Regions from separate parts of the Homo sapiens genome. Here all the other regions are linked to region 4. The links are contacts of gene promoters, found by promoter capture Hi-C in blood cells and fetal thymus (Javierre and others, 2016). All regions are on one chromosome and are shown on one strand. The core of a region is centred on a gene start or on the middle of the fragment in contact, and the rest is flanking DNA. Distances in the headings are between cores, read along the strand shown.

Region 1 (2,700 bases), core at 200-2,699, 1.1 Mb after region 4:
TCTGGGGTCCCCTTAGCCAAGATTTTTATTTTTAGTTCTCATCTAGAGACATATGCATATGTATTGATTTGCAAATCTTTTGATGTAGAATAATGTTGAATTCTCTTTTTTGGGGAATGTAGGTTTTGTGAAGGGAGTGTCACCATCTTGGTTTACTCCACTCAATGCATCTTTTCCAGCCTCATTAAAACAGCAGAAACTCGAAGATACTGTTGATCTGAGCACAGACTACTGAGTTTTGTAATTTTCCCCTGGGTCTTGTGCTAAAATGTTAAAAGTATCACATTGAGGAACTGTTCTTTAGCTGTCTGGAAAGTCTACTTAGATAGTCCTTTACCACTGAATTGACAAGATTTGGTAGGTAACAGCAAAAGTGACTGTTTCGTGTACTTTCCTGTTCTCAGAACAAGAAAGTAGAATTTGACTGTGGGGCTTAAAAAATAAAAGTGTGTTGCTTCAGTACAAGTTATTTCTGTGTAGGTGTTAGTAGATTTATGATGTAGCCAATAGGATAATTATATCTTGATATAATTATATCCAACTAATTATAATTAGTTGGGTCCTCATGGAAGTAGTGTAAATAATGTACATACCTAAGTGGTCATTTGGCTTTCCTCTTGAAGACTTTGTTAAGCTTTATGGTAAATGGGTTGTCTTTTGGGAAGTAAGACATACATAATCACTGAAGTCCTGTGGGTGCCTGTACTTGGGTGAAGGCTAGGTTTGTAAATTCCAATTTGACCTTAAGCATTTGAACATAGATTAAATGGACCTTAATCCCAAACGCTTATTGGAAGTTTCGGGGTCAAGAATGAATGTTTGTTTTATTTTGGCATTTGTCTTGATGCATTCTTCAACCCCCTTTCCTAGGACATCTAAGAACAAAGTTTAGATTGAAAGCCAAGGCCAGGCATGGTGGCTTATACTTGTAATCCCAGCACTTTGGAAGGCCAAGGTGGGTGGATCTCTTGAGTCCAGGAGTTCAAGGCCAGCCTGGGCAACAATAATGAAACCCTGTCTCTACCAAAAAAAAAGAAAAAAAAAATTAGCCAGACGTGATGGCGTGCACCTGTAGTTCCAGCTATTCGAGAGGATGAGGCAGGAGGATTGCTTGAGCCCAGGAGGCAGATGTTGCAGTCAGCTGAGATTGAACCACTGCACCACTCCAGCTGGGTGACAGAGCGAGACCCTGTTTCAAAAAAAAAAAGGAAGAAAAAAGAAAGGTGACCAGGACTTTTGCTTGTGATTTGGCAGAATCTGATAGTGGATTCTGGTAATGTGCTTATAAACACCCAAAAAGCAGCTGATGTTAGGTGGTTCAGCCTCTGGAAGGTGTCAGCTCATCTGACAGGGAAGTTGAGAGCAATAAAGTTATTTTGCCAATGCCCTGATGAATGGGAAATGCTGATGTTTCCACTTTTCATTTCCAGGAGTATAATGTCTCAGGAAGGCGATTATGGGAGGTGGACCATATCTAGTAGTGATGAAAGTGAGGAAGAAAAGCCAAAACCAGACAAGCCATCTACCTCTTCTCTTCTCTGTGCCAGGCAAGGAGCAGCAAATGAGCCCAGGTACACCTGTTCCGAGGCCCAGAAAGCTGCACACAAGAGGAAAATATCACCTGTGAAATTCAGCAATACAGATTCAGTTTTACCTCCCAAAAGGCAGAAAAGCGGTTCCCAGGAGGACCTCGGCTGGTGTCTGTCCAGCAGTGATGATGAGCTGCAACCAGAAATGCCGCAGAAGCAGGCTGAGAAAGTGGTGATCAAAAAGGAGAAAGACATCTCTGCTCCCAATGACGGCACTGCCCAAAGAACTGAAAATCATGGCGCTCCCGCCTGCCACAGGCTCAAAGAGGAGGAAGACGAGTATGAGACATCAGGGGAGGGCCAGGACATTTGGGACATGCTGGATAAAGGGAACCCCTTCCAGTTTTACCTCACTAGAGTCTCTGGAGTTAAGCCAAAGTATAACTCTGGAGCCCTCCACATCAAGGGTAAGAGGATGCTGGGTGTCAAGGAGCTGTTGAATTGCCCTTGAGAGTCTCTCCTCCGTGAAACAAGGAGGGCAGCCTAGAATAGTTTCTGAGAACTCTTCTTTGTGTTCTTAACTACTTTCAGGAAAAAAATTCTTGACAGGCAAGTGCATTAGTATAACAGCAGACTGTTTACTTAACTCAGGCAGAGCGTGTGTTCTCAAAACCCTGTAGCTCAACCCCTTATATCACTTAGCACGATGTTTAGCATTATTTAACTTTTTAAGATGAAGCTTGATGAGTAACAGTTTATCAACAAGGTAGCAAATACTTGACAACAGTAGTAGTTCTCCATGGGCCCTGGACCAGCAGCCTCAGCATCACCTGCAACTTGTTAAAATGCAAATTCTCGGGCCCCATTCCCGATTCATTAAATTGGACTCTGAGGGTGAGATCCTGCAGTCTGTGTTTTCACGAGCCCTTGAGGGGATTCTACTGCCCAGTCAAGTTTGAGAACCACTGCTTAAAAGCCTGGTTTTAGTTCCTGGTGAAGAAGAAGAAGAAAAAACAAAATAGTGCCTGAGTGCAAATAGATGTTTCAGTTATGGATCAAAAGATGGCCTTAGTTTGCTCTCCTTATTCCTCAGGGAGCACCTGCAGGAGGAAGAGCAGGAGCTCTAGAATCTGCTTTCTGGCCTCACCACTCATTTGCTGTATGGATTGTT
Region 2 (2,700 bases), core at 108-2,607, 1.1 Mb after region 4:
ACTATGGATGTGTAGGGAAATAAAGAGAAAATAATCTACCTTAATGGAAGAAATCAAGTTTTACTATATAATTGGAGGGAAAATGAGTAAAAACAGTTAGAGGCCAGGTGTGATGGCTCACATCTGTAATCCCAGCACTTTGGGAGGCCACGGCAGGCAGATCACCTGAGGTCAGGAGTTAAAGACCAGCCTGGCCAACATGGTAAAACCTTGTCTCTACTAAAAACACAAAAACTAGCCAGGTGAGGTGGTGCCGCACCTGTAATCCCAGCTACTCAGGAGGCTGAGGCAGAAGAATCACATGTTCACCTCCAGGCTTGAACCCGGGAGGCAGAGGTTGCAGTGAGCCAAGACCGCGCCACTGCACTCCAGCCTGGGCAACAAGAGCAAAACTCCATTTCAAAAAACAAAACAACAACAACAACAACAAAGCAAAAAAAAAAAAAAAAACCAGTTACAGTAGAATAGAGAAATCTGAACCAATAAAATCTTATTTCTATCAAACCCAGGCAGGAATTGTTACTTTTTTATTATACACATCTCCTGCTCATAAAGCTTAAAAGGTTCCTCAGTGTCAAACACCACAAAGTCCTAATACCTTATTCTGGACTTTAAAGCTTCATCCTTCCTTCCGTGCACACCGGTCCTTAATCCTTCCCAGCTCTCATCATGCCAGCTGACTCGGCTGGACACAATTCATTTATAGTTACATACTATATTCCTTGCTGTTGCAGAGGTTAAAAAAAAAAAGTAAAAATCCAAGAAGAGTAGATTCTGTTAATGGGAGGACTGCATTAACAGCATGATAGCTGATATATTTAGGTATGCAAATCTGAGATGGGCGAGAGATTTGTAAAAGAACAGGGATCTAGGAAGAAAAGATTTCAGGCACTGACGTGGACAGCACAGAAGAGGGTCTCTGAAGAACTCTACACAGAGAGCACAGCACCAGCAACAGGAGCAGGAGGCGGGGCACACAGCTGGCACCTGCCCTGCATTCATTTACCGCCTCTTTTCTCCTTTGCTCCATCACTATTTCAAATCCCACCCATCCTTCAGCATGTCCAGCTCCAGGCCCACACCTCCTCTAGGGGGCAGTGCTGCCCTCCTGAACTCTTATAGGTTTTCTTGCCTATAATAGTAATATAACATCTGGCCGTAAAAGAAGTGGCAATATTTCTTTCATCTTCCCTATCACATAAGATATATACACATTTTTTGATGGAGTCTTGCTCTATCGCCCAGGCTGGAGTGCAGTGGCGGGATCTCAGCTCACTGCAACCTCCGCTTCCCAGGTTCAAGCAATTCTCCTGCCTCAGCCTCTGGAGTAGCTGCAATTACAGGCACCCACCACCACGCCCAGCTAATTTTTGTATTTTTAATAGAGACAGTGTTTCACCATGTTGGCCAGGCTGGTCTTGAACTCCTGACCTCGTGATCCACCTTCCTCGGCCTCCCAAAGTGCTGGGATTACAGGCGTGAGCCACCGTGCCCAGCCCACATAAAATATATATTTTTAAATGTCTTTAGGTCAGTGTCTGTGTCTCCTAATTCTTCCCCATCTGTATAGTGAAACATATTCACTGTTTTCTAAATGGGTAATTAAATAAACATGGATGGGTGAATATCTGTAGGAGATTCCATAAAATGCTACGATTATAATTTCAAAATAAGGTAACCTTAATGTGTATGCAGTTTCCTGATTATAGAAAAGAACTAAGAAGCCAATTGAAATCTGAAATCAACCAAAACCTTCATCCCTGCTATACCCTGATCTTTGTTCCATAGGAGCCAAAATAAAAAACCATACACAACAGCAGGTGTTTTATGACAGAAACTAAGACCAGAAAAAGGATATTTAAATTTAGAAAAATAATACCTTTAATAGTCAACTGTCTTGTTTAGAACAAGCCAGACAAGATATTAATAAATAAAAGCATGCAAGCCAACTGACCATTAACCTACTCATCCACAAATTATTTTTCAATTGGACCTTACACTGGATAGCAGTCACACAGTCCATAATTACTGCTATGATGAATCAATCGCTTTGATTTTTCCATCATTCAAAGTTGAGGGTTAAAAGTAAGTTCCTGGAAAGCTTTTTCAAGTATCAAAGTAGAATATGTTCATTAATTTAAAATGGCAATAGTATAAGGAAACAGAAAAGATGCTCAATCTAATCGCCTAGTGAAAACAAAATTCTGAAGTCCTTTTTTCTGGTTTTTAATCTTAGGCATATTTTACATAGATCCGAGATAATAACAAAGAGACAAATGTATGAGGATTCAGTGGGACAATGCTCATTCAGTTCTTATTTATAGCTTTTAGCATAAAGAAAAGCCCTGTAAATCTTAGCTGTTGTTATTTATATAGAATGATCTACAATTTATTCTGGAATAAAGTCAGACCACCTGAGATATGTATACTTGGAACACACAGCCTTTGCCCTTCATAGAATTGCCCTGACATTAAACACTGGTCTACATTGAGAAAAGATGAAGCAACAGCCTTACAAAATTCACTACTGCATTTATTGAACAGCTCATCGACACTGACATCCACTCAGCAGCCTCCCCTCCATGAGACATCACAGAAGAACTATCCCAGGGCAGGAGGACTTATGCCTCTCTAGAAAAATTGTTTTGTTGCATGGACCCTGACTGCAGCTGTGCTTGCTCGTGTTTTCCTATTTGTTCT
Region 3 (2,700 bases), core at 182-2,681, 1.5 Mb after region 4:
ACTCACAATTATGAGAAATAGGACAAGCGCAGTGGCTCATGCCTGTAATCCTAGAACTTTGGGAGGCTCAGATAGAGAATCGCTTGAGCTCAGGAGTTCGAGACCAGCCTGGTCAACACAGTGAGACCTCGTCTCTACTAAATATTAAAAAAAATTAGCCAGGCCTGGTGGTGCACACCAGTAGTTCCAGCTATTCATGAGGCTGAGGCAGGAAGTTAAGCCCAGGAGTCTGAGGCGGCAGTGAGTTATGACAGTGCCACTGTACTCCAGCCTGGGCAACAGAGTGAGACCCTGTCTCAAAAAAAAAAAAAAAAATTAGGAGAAACGTTACAGAAAGTGTAGGAACTATATTAGAGGATATAACAGACAGGTAAGACTCAATTGCGCCCTGTCACATATGGCACATAATTTAGAATTACTTTTTTTTCTTTTTTTTTTAGAGACAAGGTCCCCCCACCCCAGGGCAGGATGCAGCGGCACGATCATGGCTCACTGCGGCCTCAAACTTCTGGGCTCAAGCAATCCTCCTACCTCAGCCTCCTGAGGAGCTGATACTATAGGTGTGCACCACCACGCCTGGCTTTTTTTTTAAGAGACAGGAGTCTCGCTATGTTGATCATGATGGTCATGAACTCCCGGGCTCAAACTATCCTTCCACCTACAGGTGTGGGCCACTGCTCCTGGCCAGGATTAATTACTTCTTAAATGAACTATGTACCCCAATTTTGAACAATGCAGCTCTGCTGGAAATGTCTGGGACTTAAGTAAAATGTGTAAAGCCATAACCTGATACACACTAGGCCCTCAAGAATAAATGTTAGTTATTTTCACTGGGTGCTGTGCCCCTCCAGAGAGAAACTGATTAGGTTTTGGATACTAATCCCCTAGCTCTAGGCCGCTAAGTAATACCAATCTAATAAGCATTTCAGAAATAAGTATAACAGGAAAGGAAGTAATATGTAATAAAAACATTCTGCATTTGCATCAAGGGTTTCCTCGAGATGTCGAGTATCATTATTCCCAATTTAAAGATGAAGTAACTGAGGCTCGAAAAGAAGAACAGGACCTAACAACATCGTACAGAAGTCCCAGCTCCAGGGCATCTGCTGGTCTTTCTCCACCCCTCCATAACTCTACAACCTTGGTCCAGAACAGGCCTCTGGGCCCCAGACCTCGGAGGGATTGAGCCTTTCCCAGAAGGCTTTGCAGCGCCGCGGAGAACTCTGGGATACAAATGGATACACAAATCCAAAGCAAAAGTCTAGACCTGGGCCCGAGAAACAGCCTCTTAAGCCCCCCAGGTGCCTTCTTCGGCTCGTTTGTGTGCTTACCTTTCCTGGAGCTCCCGCCATCGGGAGCCTCACTAAGCCCCGCAAAGGCTGGGAACAGCGCCATGACCACAGGCCGTACCTCCGTTCTTCTCTATAGGGATGGCGCCGGCGAGCGAGCGCCGGTCTGAGGACCCCTGCCGTCGCGGTGCACTCTGGGAAATGTGGTTTTCGCGGCGCTCTCTGGGGCTTGACCCCGAAGCGGGAGGGGCGGGGCCCAGAGAGGAGGGTCGTCAAGGGACTGGGGCGCGGCGGGGCAGGGAGAGGCAGGGCAAAGCAGGGTGGGGCGGGGCCAAGGGGGGCGGAGCGAGGAGTGACGGGTTCCTAGTGGTTGGGACCCTGTGAGAACCGGAACTGCGAAAACCGGAGAAGGGAATTGTTGACCGCGAAAGGGACTAAGGAAATTGGGATTCCAGTTCGACCCCTAAATTCACACCATCCTTGCTAACTGGGTCAACTTAAACGCTCTAAGCATTACTTTCCTTATCTGCAAAATATTGAGAAGATTAAATGAACATATTTATAAAGGGCCTAGCATTGAGTCCGGCCCATGAAAAGCACTTAATATGTGTTAGCTATTATGTGAATTACGACTGCAAGTTCGGCTCAAAGTCATGTGAGATATCCGAACTTCAATCAGGTTACCATATTAAATACCCCAGAACAAGGAAAAATGGAAAGTCCCATCAAGTTCAAGGGTCTTTGATAGTTAGGAAATACCTGTCTGTGAAGCATTCTTGACCCCGGTTCCTCCCACCCAAAATCTAATCACACTTGCTACCAGAAATATAGAGAGTAAAGGAACAACTTAGAAGACTTTGTACTACCAAGAAACAATTAGCCAAATCTAGAATATGGGAAATTATAGAAAACAACCGTGCTTCCTTAACATATCAAGGGCTTTAAGAGGGCAGGAGATTGTAATAGATACGAAGATCTTACAGACACATCAAGCAAATACAACATATTTGTGGCCTCATTATAATTCTGATTGGACAAACTGTAAAAAGACCTTTTTAAGATAGATGGAGAAATAAGAAGGTAGGCAGAGTACAAGCAATTCACAAGTAATTCTTGTGAATTCTGTTAGATGTACTAAAGTACTTATGTCACTGAGGTGACCCTTATTTATTTATTTTGAGACAAGGTCTCCTTCTGCCACCCAGGCTGGAGTGTAGTGGTACGATCTCTGCTCACTGCAGCTTCGAACTCCTCGATTCAAGCAATCCCCTCACCTCAGCCTCCCAAGTGGCTGGAACCACAGGCATACACCACCATGTCTGGCTTAATTTTTTTTTTTTTAATAGAGACAGGGTTTCACCATGTTGCCCAGGCTGGTCTCGAACTCCTGGGCTCAAGCGATCTGCCCCCC
Region 4 (2,700 bases), core at 132-2,631:
TCTCTGTGCTTCACTTTCTCTAGTAGGGTTGAAAATCACTTACATAGTAATCTGCTTACAGTGTACCAGAAAACAAAAAGACGCTGTGAAATATTGAGCCCAATTGTCAATTGTCGGCATGTGCGTTCTTAAAAATTTGACACTCAGAAACCATGGGCTGCTTCATTAGGACCTTTAGGGAGATTACATTTCTACCGGCAGTTCCAGGAGAACACAAATAGACTAATGACAATACACTTAACTGTAACAATGACAATCCTGATAATTACTGACTTCCAAAATACAACAATTCAAGAAAGACTGCTTAGTAGAGAATAAAAGGTAACAATAAATTTCTTAGTTTAGAAGCATAAGTTTCATTTTAATACCTATGAAAAATATAAATATGTGGATTAAATAGAATGTCTAATGTTTTCTCAGACCCCAGTGGTTTGAGAAAAGCCTACCTGGATTTAGCCGGTCACACCTCTCTTTTCATAACCATTGCAATTTTAAGCATATTTGTCATCTGTGCAAATTTCTAGAGAAAAGTCAGAATTGTGTTTGAAGAAATCACTCTGCACAAGTAAACCCTTGCCAAACAGCAAGTGCCAGGAGACGATGTTTCACAAAGCTTTTAAAAATTATTATTATTATTATTATTATTATTATTTTGCACACATTATCTAGTTTGGTAAAACTGTCACCAATTTACAATCCGGAATCACCATGTGAGTCGAATTAACAAATGTATTAGCAACTTGTAGTCAACCAGATTGCAGTTCCAGCTCCCTAACTCAATGCAATTTTAATAATTTCTCTTCTCTGAGTCTATCTCAGTTTCTCATCTGTAAAATGAGTAAAAGCAAACCACTTGCAGTTCAGATGTTGAGATTCGGTGGGAAGGACCTCGAGAAACAGCGGACAATTTCAGGATTTAGGACTTTAGGTCTTGATGGGTGGATGGTACTGTGGAAGCTGTTTACTTGTTTGTATTTCTAGAATCGGAAGGTAAAGCGAAAGGGATGGAAACGAGCGAATGGAAGAAGTAGGACAGACACCAGACAGAGATCAACTCCAGGGACTCTTCCGGACCTGCAGGGCAGGCAGAGCATTCGGTTGCTAGGCAGCTGCGCCTCCTGGGAGGGTGGGGGACCCCAGGGGCAGGTGTCTAACTCACTACCTTTTTGTTTAGCCGCGGTGCCTTCTTTTCAAAATCAATGAAACCTGTAGCCTTTAAAAGTAGACATCTTTTTCCAACCAAGTTTAGGCAAGCCCTGTAGCCGAGTTCTGCTTGCGGTTGTTTTTCTTTTTCCTGTTCTCAGGCGCGCTGCGGGCACCTCTCGGACAAGGCCCCAGCCGTCGCGGGTTGCCGGGCAGAGTCGGACGCCGCCAGCTCTTCACTCCACGCCCACCTCTCTCCTGGAGCGCTGGGCCTTCGCTGGCCGCACCGGCAGCCATGAGCTCGGAGATGGAGCCGCTGCTCCTGGCCTGGAGCTATTTTAGGCGCAGGAAGTTCCAGCTCTGCGCCGATCTATGCACGCAGATGCTGGAGAAGTCCCCTTATGACCAGGTACCGGCCAGCTCCCGTCAGCCTGTGCATCCTGACGCTGAGGCTGCGGGGTCTGGGGCATATCCCAGCCCCGGGTTGGGAGGCCGGGGAGGAAGGCCCGAGGCGGGGCTGACCGTTCGGCCCTCGGAGGCGCCCGGAGCGAGACCTTGTGGAGCTGTGACTAGCGGGTCCGCTGTCCGCCACGTCCACGGGGATAGCAAGTTCTGTGCCATGACCGCCCCCTCCTCACAATTTTCAGCCTCCCCTCCCCTATACGTGTCCCAGAATGAGAGCCCTGAACTTTACTTGACGAGGAACTTTGATAATTCGTTTATACTTGCATATTGATGGGCTTTAAGCTCTCAGCGTGTGCGTTGTTAATTTCTAAAAAATATGCATAAACAAAGATCTGTGACTCTCCACCTCCTGTTAACATAGCTGCCTTCTTCCTTTTGGATCGAACATGTGATCCTCCCACCTCATCTTTAGACTGTTGTCCAAGAGTGAAGGAGGCCATGAGTTTAGCTTGAGGCAAATATGCAAATTAGAAGAATGAGAATCTAGGAGGGAGAAAGATACATTCATTATTTAAAAAATTACCTAGGCAAGGGAAGCTCTAATTGTAGGAGGGAGAAATGGGAAAGAAAGGCTCCTTACAAGAAGGAATGATGGCATTGATGAAAAGAGAACTTAAACTAGAGTAATGTGTATAGCGAGTGGAAAAGGTAGTATACAATGTACGTGAGCGGTACAATTCTGGTGGGCAGGTGGCTCCTGGAATAGGCAAAAAAGGAGAAAATGGGAGAACAGAAGTAGCGCTGCGGCAGTTTGTCAGTGCTTTTAGTAAGTGCGGAATATACCTACGTAGTTCTAGTTCCCTAGCTTTTCCTCTAGTGGTGTTGCCTTGGAGATGTTAGAAAAAATGGAAAATTGAAGGGAGTTACAAAAGCGGAGGCCTGAGTGTGAATGCTGTTACTAGGCTCTGCCTTAGCTCCCAGCAAATGGATGATGGATGATAACCTGCTGAGATGAACATTTTGTCTTTCAGATAGTACATCTCTCTTAGAACAGCCTACGTTAGTGGTAATACAAAGCTAGGTTCTGTTGTTAGTTCACATTAATTAATAGGACTATATTTCTGTAGACAAGCATTTTTCCAAGGTTTTTTT
Region 5 (2,700 bases), core at 28-2,527, 1.1 Mb after region 4:
CCTAGCAATGGATACCAGTATCAAGAGAGCAGAGCCAAGCCCTTAAGGCACAACTCCGATCTCTGCACAGTGAATCATGAAAATAAATACCCCTGAAGAACAGTCTAATTTTTCCCCCCAAAACAATTTGTGTTTTCTAGGGAGAATGGCTCAGAAAAAAAAAAAAGAAAAAAAGAAAAAAACAACAAATTTGTGGATACAAGTTGTCTATGAGAAGTACATCTAGCTACTTGTGATGATAAATTTGTAACCCACAGAATAAATGGCACCAACTCTATGACAAAACTGGTCATTGAAGAAACTTCTTTACTAGACAATGTGAAAGAGACAGAAAAAAGGAAAGAACCATCCAAAGAATCAAATTTGACTCTGATGGCAGGGTTTGGTTAAAAGCCATCTGACAGAGTTTAAAACTACTGTGACAATTTTGTGATAATAGCAGTTTAAATCGCTATACAAATGTGTACTCAATTCATATTTGTTAAAGCCTCCAAGTCTAAATCTCCAATTGAAAGCCTAGTAAAGAAGACCATTTGAAATAGGCCCAGAAAAAAGTAAGGGCCAGCAGCTGCTCTATCCAATTCAACACATAATTTGAACATGTAAACTTTGATCAGATTAATTCTATTCCTTCGTTCATTTCATTCATTTATTTGTTCATGTATTCGTCAAATACTCTCTCCTGCAAACAGAGTTAAATTTTTACAAGGAGAGAACAAGAGTGAGACCCTCCTGCCCCTTCCTCTCCTTGGACAAGAGTCTTGATATCCCACGGCAAGGATTTCTAATTGAAGTCATGACTGGATTATGAGGAATCCTAACAATAAGACTTGGGTTAAGAAAAGCATTTTTAAACTTTTATTTGTTTCTTATATCCTTTAACATGACTCATGTCATGAGTCTCACTAAGTCTGTGTAGACATTTTTTGAGGTATGACTGACAAAAAATTGTCTATATTTAAGGTATACAAGATGACGTTTTTATAAAAGTATACTTTGTGTAATGACTCACAGTCAAGCTAATTAGCATATCCATCACCTGACATGCTTCGTGTGTGTGTGTGTGTGTGTGTGTGTGTGTGTGTGTGTGTGTGTATGTGTGTGTTGAAAACACTTAAGATCTGCTCCCTTGGCAAATCTGAAGTACACAACACATTAACTATAGTTACCATGCTGTACACTAGATCACTAGAATTCATTCACCCTGTAACTAAAATTTTGTATCCTCTGACCGACATCTCCCCATCTTCCCCACTTCCCAGCCCCTGGCAACTACCATTCCACTCTTTTTCTCCAAGTTTGACTAGTTTAGATGTCACATATAAGTAATATCATGCAATATTTGTCTTTCTGTGTCTGGCTTCTTTCACTTAGCATAATGTCCCCAGATTCCTCCATGCTGTTGCAAATGGCAGGATTTCCTTCTTTTTTAAGGCTGAATAATATTCTGCTGTACACACATACCACAATTTCTTTATCCATTCATCCAGTGGTGGGCACTTAATATGGGTTTCCATATCTCGGCTATTGTGAATAATGCTGCAATTAACATGGGAGTGCAGACATTTTATTCTACCTGTAAATTCAGTCTACTCCATCATTATCATTACTAGGCAGTGGCATTTCTAAACAAGAAAATAACATTTTGAGGTTATGAAAACACTTGACCATTAACAAGTACCAGCAACATGATTATAATCAAATAAAAAATTCTGATTGCCCTAGGGGCTTGGTTCTGTGACTTCTTTGACCAAAAAAATAATAATAATTGCGAATTAGTTGTTTGGTTTGAATTGAGCAATAAAGGACTCTCAGCTTTAACTGTAAAATGGATAGAAATGCCGTTGATGTGGAGAGTCACTGTAAGGACTAAGTAAGGCAACACGTAGTTGGTAATCAATGAACGGGAAGCACTGTGACTGCAGTGGACAATACAGTGCAATGAAAGCTGGGGAAGAGCGAGAATCGAGGACTGGCTCTCCAGGCAGGGTGTGAATGCTGTGAGAAGCTGGCAACAATGAACCCTGAGAAAAAGGACAGGGGACAACTGGAGGTACTTAGTTGGGGAGAGCAGCTTTCTAGGATGGATATGAGTATATCTTCAGGCAGGGATAGGCATTATAAACAGAAGTGGGAATGGCTGATGGAGAAATGTCTTAGATCAAAAAAAGGGGAAGAGAGAAGACCAGAACAAAAGAGAGGAATTAGGAAAAAAAGAAGAGACCCCTTTTCCTCAGAAATAAAATTAAAGGAAGGCTGGGCGTGGTGGCTCACGCCTGTAATCCCAGCACTTTAGGAGGCCAAGGCAGGTGGATCACCTGAGGTCAGGAGTTCCACACCAGCCTGACCAACATGGTGAAACCCCATCTCTACTAAAAATACAAAAATTAGCCGGGCATGGTAGCACACGTCTGTAATCCCAGCTACTTGGGAGGCTGAGGCAGGAGAATCGCTTGAACCCAGGAGGTGGAGGTTGCAGTGAGCCGAGATCACACCACTGCACTCCAGCCTGGGCAACAGAGCGAGACTCCATCTCAAAAAAAAAAAAAGAAGAAGAAGAAGAAAGAAAATTAAAGGAATACAGAAAAGAGATGAAGAGAAGGCAGTAAACCCAGGAAGAGGCCATGATCCTCTCCATGAAGAAAAAGGCAAGATCACCTGCAAAGCACAGTAGTGGGAAAGGTTTGGTACAACCATCAC

The links. Contacts are between HindIII fragments. The CHiCAGO score rates a contact against its expected background, and 5 or more counts as called.
Region 1: a fragment that was not itself captured here is called in contact with the fragment with the promoter of TTC8 in region 4 in 4 of 17 cell types (naive B cells, total CD4 T cells, fetal thymus and 1 more); the score reaches 7.3 in naive B cells.
Region 2: a contact is called between a fragment that was not itself captured here and the fragment with the promoter of TTC8 in region 4, in 1 of 17 cell types (naive CD4 T cells). The highest score is 5.7, in naive CD4 T cells.
Region 3: a contact is called between the fragment with the promoter of NRDE2 here and the fragment with the promoter of TTC8 in region 4, in 2 of 17 cell types (total B cells and non-activated CD4 T cells). The highest score is 7.4, in total B cells.
Region 5: a contact is called between a fragment that was not itself captured here and the fragment with the promoter of TTC8 in region 4, in 2 of 17 cell types (monocytes and M1 macrophages). The highest score is 6.5, in monocytes.

The regions. Positions count from the first base shown.
Region 1 is chr14:89,961,678-89,964,377 of GRCh38, forward strand. TDP1 (tyrosyl-DNA phosphodiesterase 1) reads left to right here. Exons shown (of 17, transcript NM_018319.4): 3 at 1,431-1,996. The coding sequence starts at 1,438. Among named protein-coding and RNA genes, the nearest start is that of TDP1, 7.1 kb to the left of the region's middle. RefSeq lists an enhancer at 1,199-2,398. The HindIII fragment of the contact is 1,634 bases long and covers 633-2,266 here.
Region 2 is chr14:89,938,539-89,941,238 of GRCh38, forward strand. The region is part of intron 3 of EFCAB11 (EF-hand calcium binding domain 11); the gene reads right to left. Among named protein-coding and RNA genes, the nearest start is that of EFCAB11, 15 kb to the right of the region's middle. The HindIII fragment of the contact is 1,484 bases long and covers 616-2,099 here.
Region 3 is chr14:90,330,510-90,333,209 of GRCh38, forward strand. NRDE2 (NRDE-2, necessary for RNA interference, domain containing) reads right to left here and starts at 1,432. Exons shown (of 14, transcript NM_017970.4): 1 at 1,332-1,432. The coding sequence starts at 1,395. RefSeq lists an enhancer at 1,186-1,365 and a silencer at 1,516-1,665. The HindIII fragment of the contact is 5,093 bases long and covers 1-2,700 here.
Region 4 is chr14:88,823,270-88,825,969 of GRCh38, forward strand. TTC8 (tetratricopeptide repeat domain 8) reads left to right here and starts at 1,382. Exons shown (of 15, transcript NM_144596.4): 1 at 1,382-1,552. The coding sequence starts at 1,439. RefSeq lists an enhancer at 1,034-1,393. The HindIII fragment of the contact is 2,519 bases long and covers 612-2,700 here.
Region 5 is chr14:89,916,003-89,918,702 of GRCh38, forward strand. All of the region lies in intron 5 of EFCAB11 (EF-hand calcium binding domain 11), which reads right to left. Among named protein-coding and RNA genes, the nearest start is that of EFCAB11, 37 kb to the right of the region's middle. The HindIII fragment of the contact is 4,035 bases long and covers 1-2,700 here.